Regions from separate parts of the Homo sapiens genome. Here region 1 is linked to region 2. Evidence: promoter capture Hi-C in human tissues and cell types (Jung and others, 2019). All regions are on one chromosome and are shown on one strand. Each heading gives the region's core, a stretch centred on a gene start or on the middle of the fragment in contact. The rest is flanking DNA. Distances are from core to core; before and after follow the strand shown.

Region 1 (4,275 bases), core at 1,073-3,572, 640 kb before region 2:
GGTGACTCATGCCTGTAATCCCAGCACTTTGGGAGGCCAAGGCGGGCAGATCACCTGAGGTCAGGAGTTTAAGACCAGCCTGGCCAACATGGTGAAACCCCGTCTCTACTAAAAATACAAAAATTAGCCAGGTGTGGTAGTGTACACCTGTAATCTCAGCTACTCGAGAGGCTGAGGCAGGAGAATCACTTGAACCTGGGAGGTGGAGGTTGCCGTGAGCCAAGATTGTGCCACTGAACTCTAGCCTCGGCGGCAGAATGAGACTCCGTCTTGAAAAACAACAACAACAACAACAAAATTATGTTTGGATTTGTATTATTAATAAAAATGAACTTAAAAATACTGTTTGACTCCCATCCTTTAAAAGTTTTAAATGTTGTATAATGTATATACTACATTCATGTGTGTGTATACATACCATTCATAACTAGTTTTAATTACACATAAATTAATACAATTTATAATATGTTAGTATATATGTTATAAATTTTTTCCCCTGAAATTCCTGAGCTTCAATACGTTTTTAAAATTTTTTACTTTTTATTTTTTTAGAGGGAGTCTTGCTCTGTTGCCCAAGCTGGAGTACAGTGGTGTGATGATAGTTCACTGCAGCCTCCAACTCCTGGGCTCAAGTGATCCTGTCCCCTCAGACTCCCAAGTATCTGGGACTACAGGTGTGCACCATCACACCTGGCTTAATTAAAAAAAAATTTTTTTTTTGAGATGGAAACTTTCTCTGTTGCCCAGGTTGGAGTGCAGTGGTGCTGTCTCAGCTCACCATAGCCTCTGCCTCCTGGGTTCGAGTGATTGTCCTGCCTCAGCCTCCTGAATAGCTGGGATTACAGGTGTGCACCACCACACCTGGCTAATTTTTGTATTTTTCATAGACATGGGGTTTCACCATGTTGGCCAGGCTGGTCTCAAACTCCTGAGCTCAAGTGATCTGCCCGCCTCGGCCTCCCAAAGTGCTGGGATTACAGGCATGAGCCACCGTGCCTGGCTAATTTTTTTTTTTTTTTTTAACTGATAGTCCTGCGTGATCAAAAAAGCTTTGATACCACAATTTAAGTCACTTAGAGTTAGGTATTTTTGTTACTTGCAGCTGAAAGCATCATACCTGATATAAGGACAGATAAGAGTAGTAGCTGTCCCTGTTTTATTCTTAGCTTTCAAGAATCTCTGTGATCTGGACCCTAACTTGTTTGCAGGCCCAGCTGTCCTCTCCTTGTCTCTGCTAATACCACTGAACTCCTGCCCGTCCCTGATACTTTGTTTCAATTTTGCCTCTTCCCTCACCCTACCACCACCACTGAAATTTTGACTTTCAAGGGCTAGCTTAAATAAATATTGCTTTCTTATGAACATTTTTTCTGATTTACTCCCGCTTCCACATTTCAGTTTTTCTTTCCTTTTAGTCTCCCTAGTACATTGTACATTCATTATAATGTCTTTCTCTGTTTGCTTTTTATTATTAAGTTGTTCGCCTATTGGCTTTGCAGATGGGTTGTAGGCTTTTTGATGGTAGGGGGTCCTGTCTTACCTTTCTCATTTAAAAAGAAAACAATCTGTTTCTCCTTTGGGAGAAAGGGAGACAGAGAATCCACAGTTGTTAAACATCACTCTGGACTTGTTACTCTGGGGTGGGTCTCGCCTCCAGCCTTCTGGCAGCCTTAGGAAGGCAGGGAGCTCCATGTACATGAAAGGAGATTGAGGGCAGGGAGCTCACAGAACCAAGACAGCAGGACCCAGGATTCAGACCTGGAAAATTTTTATTTCCTGGCTGGTTTGTGTGCCCTCATGCATGTTATTTACAGTGCCATGTTCTTTCACATGGGAACACTGACACAGGTGAAATGGGAGGTTCCATAGGATGATAGTGCAAAAACATTAAAGACAATCCTAGCAGATGCAGTGAGTTCAAGGGAGAGTCCTTGTGGAGTAACACGAAAGGCCTGGTGGATGAGATGTATGAAGATCTAAATGCCTGCAGATAGTGAGCTGTCTGCAACTACCACAAAGCAAAATCATGGGCGATAACTCCCCAGGGTAGGATCTGGCCTGAGCATCCCCACTGGGAGATGGGAGGTGATGGGCTCTGTAGTGCTTAGCTGAATAGAGTTATCTATGTCAGTATTCCCTCTATGCAAAGATAGTTGAGAGTTCACAAGTTGTAGGCTTTCAAGTTGAGCTATGTTAGATATATGCTCCCCTGATGGAAGACAGACATGTCTCCAGGGTTTTGAGGGTCAAATGACAGAATGTATATAAAGTGTTTTGAACATTATAAATTGCCTCCTTAGAGGCAAGGGAACATCAAATTTGGTTGTTTTCTTGCATCAGAGACTTCTAGCTCAGATTTCTTTGTTGGCCATTTTTAAGGGCATTTCCAATGAGTTTTTAAGTGTAATGAGTTTTTAAGTGTTGGGGTTCTTAAATGGAATATGATATAATTTTTTTCAGATGAACTGCAGATATTACTTAAAATCTTGCTGTGAAACTTTCACCTGTGGAGTAAGTAGAATTCATGATTAAGGTGAATCTCTTTTGGGATCCAGTTCAGTTTTTCCAAAGGATCTGTTTATAAGCATAGGACCACTTAGCTGAGTGTGGTTGCTCATGCCTATAATTCTAGTACTTTGGGAGGCTGAGGTAGGAGGATCTCTTGAGCCAAGGAATTTCAGACCAGCCTGGGCAACATAGGAAGTCTCTGTCTCTACAAAATTTTTTTTTAAAAATTAGCCAGGCATGGTGGTACCATGCCTGTGGTCTCAGCTACGTGGGAGACTGAGGTGGGAGGGTCGCTTGAGCCTGGGAGGTTGAGGCTGCAGTTAGCTGTGATTACAGCACTGCATTCTAGCCTTGGCGACAGAGCAAGTCCTTATCTCAAAAAAAAAAGAAAAAAGAAAAAAAAAAACTTACCGTTTTCATAAAGATGGGAATCTGTGGGGCTTTTATTTCTGGTCCTGGAAACCCTAAGTACCAACTGAAAGACTCAAAAGAGCTTTGATTTCAAGGTTTTTTGTTGTTGTTGTTCTTGGCTACTGTAAATCCAGTAATTTATTTTCATGAGTCTTTGGAAAGGGTTAGGGAAAGCTTTGAAATATCTTAAGGTAGTTTTGAAAGTAAAAAGTAGGTATGGTTTGACAATTTGAAATTTGTTTCATTGTAGATTCCCAAGGCAATGGGTTTGAATAAATTAAGTTAATTCCATTTCAAAGAACTTTTGCAGTGGGATTTCATATTGTAGAAAGAGTCTGACTTATAAATCAAAACATGTTAAAGAGTAAACATATTTATAGATGCAAAAGACATCAAAACAGTGAGTGGCTCCTAAATTGCAAATAGATGCAATTGTGAAATTCTTATTCAGGGGTTGGTGAATCATCCATGTAACTTAAGAGGGCCTTATTTTTCTTAGGATTTATTTAAGTAAAGCAAGAATTCCCAAAATGCATTCTGGGGGAAACTGAGTCTTAGGAAGTTAACAGGTGTTACGCAGGGAAAAAAGTCCTGTGGTCAAATAAGTGGGAAAATCTGGGTTAACCAAAGTAAACCAGGTATTTTTGTTTTTAACTACAGGACTTTTGAGCACCCTTAGATCTAGTGTTCATTATAAATATCCTGGAAGGGAAATAGAGTAGTCAGTGTTTTCCAAACACATTGAATTGTAGAAACTTTTTTTTTTTTCCAGAACATTTTTTGGCCAGAGAACAATGTTTGTTGGGTTATCTAATTTGTTGAAATACTTAAAAATCAAATCGCAGACATCATGTAATTTTGCCTGACTAACTTTGCTATGCATTTCTAACTTAGGACTTAAAAAAATCACCACCCCATTATCACTTTTAATACAATTAACAATAATTTAAAAATATTATCTAATTTGGGCTGGGCGCGGTGGCTCACACCTGTAATCCCAGCACTTTGGGAGGCCGAAGTGGGCAGATCACGAGGTCAGGAGATTGAGACCATCCTGGCTAACACGGTGAAACCCCGTCTCTACTAAAAATACAAAAAATAGCCGGGCATGGTGGCGGGCACCTGTAGTCCCAGCTACTCAGGAGGCTGAGGCAGGAGAATGGCGTGAACCCAGAAGACGGAGCTTGCAGTGAGCCGAGATCATGCCACTGCACTCCAGCCTGGGCAACAGAGCAAGACTCCATCTCAAAAAAAAAAAAAAAAATTCTCCCTTAAATAGCATTTGTCACCATTTTTGTTTTTTGGAAACCAAGATTCAATCAAGGTTCACATTGCACTGTGGGCTGTTGTTGTTGT
Region 2 (4,140 bases), core at 1,616-4,115:
TGCTTATCCTCTGTTGCTTGCCATTTATAATCTGCCAAATCTTCTAGTCCTTTGTTGCATGTATAATTTAGAACCATCTGTTCTATGTGCTTTTAACTATTTAAACATTTTTCACCTACCTACAATTCACATAAATGGCAGACACTCAACTCAGTCAAGCTTTCTATATAGCATATTACATGAAGCAAATTCCTGGATAAATAGATAACACCAAAGAAGACTGCTACAGAAATAAAAACTTACCATATAGAACATAAATTTCTGTGTGTTACACAAACCTTTTCAATGTATTCAGAATTGTTTCTATTAGCTTTTTTTAAGTTAATTGTAGTCAGTGTTTTTCCCTCAACCCAGAAGACAAAGAGAATGCAAATTAAATACAGACAGTTTCATGTCCTTGTTAGAAGAGATGTAAATATGCTGACTGAAAATGACTACAGGAGACAGAATTCCACTTTCCCATTCAATATACAGTGCCTCTTATTTATATACTAGTCAGTGTATCATTAAGCTTGGTCATGTGACCAAACCAACTTTTGTGAGGCGAAAAACTATGTTAGACAAGCAAATTAAAACAGTGCTAGTTTTTGTTTATCTGTTCATAATGGCTGACAAAGAGTTTATAGCTAGCGATTATAAAATAACTTTTAAAATCAATTCTGCCTCTTAAATACTCAATAATTGTTTGACTTAATATCTGCTACTAAATTTTAAAGTATCCATTATCTTAAGGTATTTTCCATAGTCATTTCTTTTCAAAATGTAAATAAATAATAGAAAAAGAAAACCCCAGAACATTTTATTAGAAACGGGGAGCCAGATAATCTAAAATAACCATACATAAATATTAACCAAGCTAATTTTCAAAAAATCCATAAGGGAGAGTGGAGCAAATAAGAAAGGGAATATACTGACTACAGATAACAGTTGAAACCTTTAAATTAAAAAAAAAAGTACACAAAAACCAGATAAATAACAAATGACGCACAAGTTTTTTACCATTTTTTGCATATAATCTTCCACCTGTTACCAAAACATACAATACGCAGACTTCGTATACTGATTTTGAGAGCAAAACACAAAAATAAGCCACACAACTTATCAGTAACCTGTAAGTTACACAATCCTATAAAACAGGAGAAAAATTAAGCAAAAAATTTACTCTTGGGAAAATTTCTCCGTAAAGTTTACATGACGTCACTGGGCCCCCTGAACATTCCCTAAACTTTGAGACTTATCCAGACACACTTCCTAATACTTCTTTCCTTTCCTCAAAAATAAAAAAGAGAGAGACTTGGGAATAAAATTGCCCAAGATGGCGAAACGCTTGTTGTTTAGAGGGCAGGAAAAAAAATGGAGGATATTGTAATATACACAAAGGGATAAATTTCAACAACTCGGCCAAGGACTGCAGCTGCTTCCCTCTTTATAAGGAAGCAACAGACAAAAGATAAATACAGAGGGAGAAAGAAAAGAAGAGAAAATCTCCCAAACAACAGAGCCAGCTCTGACTCTTCAAACACTTCCTTCCCCTTCTCAAATCCCAATTCTGGGGTTCGTGAAACTACTTAAAGGGGAGGGAGCCGCGAAAGAGAACGGGGGCTGGGGGGAGGGGTAGCGACAAGAAGATTAAAAGAGGGAAGCAGAGGAGTTGGGAGCTGGCGGTCGTTCCCGGGGAAGAACTGCTAAAACATGAGACCAAGGCACAGACCTTACTGTATGAGAAGCAATGCTCCTCAAACCTTCTGCGTGCTGACATAGACCTTCCCAGGTATCCAGATCTTTTCCCAATCCCACCTGCCCCACCCCCACCCCCGCTCATCTTCAGTAAACTCAGAGCCTCCAGCTACACACGGGAGAGCTAGAGGCCCAAGCCGGGGAGTGGGGGTGGCAGACGCAGCTCGTCAGTCCGACAGGGAAGAGGGGGCGGAGGCAAAAAAGGGCAGCAGGAGGCGGACGGGGGTGGGGGGTGATCCAGAAACTACCCCGGCAGGGAGTGGGGGAGCAGCGGATATTCCGGGGTAGGAACGGCCATCGCAACGCTGACAGAGGTTGTTTTTTAAGAAGCAAAACTGTTGGCGGCGACCTGAGCGCTGGAAGCCGAAGGGGAAGAGGAAGGAGACGCGAAGCCAGGGCGGCCGGCACAAAGGCGGCGGACTCGCGGCGGCAGCGCCTGCCCGGCCGGGAGCACAACCCACGGCCCTACTCCAGCGAAGTCCCGCACCGGCTTCTAGGAATAAAGTTTACGTTCTCCTGAGGCCGCACCCCCCACCTCCCACCCAGGACGGCACATCTCCGTGTCCTCCTCCCCCAAACTCCACTCGGGACCCCGAGAACCACCCCAGCCTTCCGGCCACCACAACAAAGAGCCGCACCGACCGGCGAGGATAAACAGCGGCGGAGGGCGAGAGGGCGGCGGGGCGAGCGCCTCCACGCAGCAACTCCGGAGTCCCCCGCTTGCCCGAGCGCAGTTTCTCCGCTGCTGTTTCCACCGGCTTTGTAACACTGGGAATTTACATCCTCACCCGCACCCCTCACGCCCGAGGATTTTAAACTCACCTTTACTCTCGAACTGAGAGTTGCGGTAGATGGGATTTTTGCCTTTTCCCCAGATGGTTGAAGGTTAAGATTTTTGGAAACCCCACCACCTCCTTATTTCTATTATTATTTCTGCAAGAAAAGTATAAAGAGAGTTGTAGTGGAGGTGAGATTTGTGATCGGGAAAGCCTTCGACTCCCTCCTTCTCCGTCTTCCGCCTCTCTCTCTCTGATTAGTTCCTATCCAGCAGCAGATTGAAGCAGGAGATGATTCTTCTCAAGGTTTGTTCAGCAGCTTCACTTCTAGGCGAAGGCTTCATGAACCAAGTGACGTCAACCAACAAGGCTTCTCTCTCTCTCCTCTCTCTAACAATGAAAGTTGCTGTTAACAAGGGAAAAAAAGAGAGAGAATTGTTTATACCATTTCAGTTCCAATAATAAATGACCTATCAGCTCCTAAAGGAGCCAAGGGAGGGGGTTGCTTCTTCTTTCCAAGAATACTGTAGCTTTGAGTTTGCACCGTTCCTTGTCCCAGGAAAAAGTTAAGAAACTTAAAATGTTTTGTTTTGCTTTTAAAGAAGACAGGACAGAAAACGGGATTTAAAACTTAGTTTTTAAAAAAACAAAAGCTACAGAGTAGGGAGCATAGGTCAACCATCTCCACCTAAATTTTTTTTGTTCCTAAACTCAGAATTCTACAACCCAACTAAATTAATATGCCAAGATTTTGCGGATGTTAAAACTCAAAAAAAGCAGTATGCAAGACGGTCCCGGGGTAAAATTCTACTGCCTTTCCACGGACAAGTTAAACTGGCTGTAATGTTTATGCACTAAGTTAAAATAAAATTTAAATAAAAGACGTTAAAATAGTCGTTTTAAAGTTATATGCACACACTGTAAAAGGTAATCTCGATAGCTTTTTTTCAAGTTTCTGAGAGATTAGAAAAAAAGCATAGCAAATTGTAGGCACTGAACACTTTTTAAAAATCAAGTTATGAGTAAGACTGGTAGCCCTTTGCTCCTTTAAACTACAAATGCAGTCATATGCTATGGTCTACCCCCAGAATCTCTTCCAACTTTGTTTTTACCCTTCCACTCCCCCAACCCCAATTCCCAAATCCTGCAACCAATCAAGTTAAACTAAAGATACAATAGGCCCCATTCCCTCCCGCACCCCATCCTATAGATTCCTAAAAACAATTTTTTTAAAAGCCTTAATCTTGATAACACTTTATTAGCCAAGAAGATACGTATTTTTTTTTTTAGAAGTTCGTTGAGGTACCGTTTTTTCCCTCCAGAACACAAGAAAGTCTCAAAGTTCATATAATTAAAAATTGCATAATTTAATTTTCAGGATGAAGAGTAAGTAAAAATTAAGCTATCGGAGAATAATTTGATCATCTATGTATATTTTATACATATGTGGATAAATGTATCTTAAAAGATGCTATTGTTTTATGTTTCCTCTTCAGCCACTGGCTGTGATTTTAATTGTGCTGGAGGATCTTCATTAGTATTAACACATGGGGAGATTTCACAAAGCTGCTTCATTAGGAAAAAAAAAAAGCTTGGCAGACTCGGTCTTTTTGCATGCACTGAGAAT

The links. Contacts are between HindIII fragments. The study calls those that stand out against the background at their distance.
Region 1: a contact is called between a fragment that was not itself captured here and the fragment with the promoter of BAZ2B in region 2, in 1 of the 25 tissues and cell types used here (dorsolateral prefrontal cortex).

Annotation. Positions count from the first base shown.
Region 1 is chr2:158,976,609-158,980,883 of GRCh38, forward strand. The region is part of intron 1 of TANC1 (tetratricopeptide repeat, ankyrin repeat and coiled-coil containing 1); the gene reads left to right. Among named protein-coding and RNA genes, the nearest start is that of TANC1, 10 kb to the left of the region's middle. The HindIII fragment of the contact is 3,973 bases long and covers 337-4,275 here.
Region 2 is chr2:159,613,683-159,617,822 of GRCh38, forward strand. BAZ2B (bromodomain adjacent to zinc finger domain 2B) reads right to left here and starts at 2,866. Exons shown (of 37, transcript NM_013450.4): 1 at 2,560-2,866. BAZ2B-AS1 (BAZ2B antisense RNA 1) reads left to right here and starts at 1,612. Exons shown (of 2, transcript NR_110588.1): 1 at 1,612-1,771; 2 at 2,068-4,140. RefSeq lists enhancers at 817-1,345, 2,402-2,928, 2,556-2,635, 2,886-2,955. The HindIII fragment of the contact is 5,037 bases long and covers 336-4,140 here.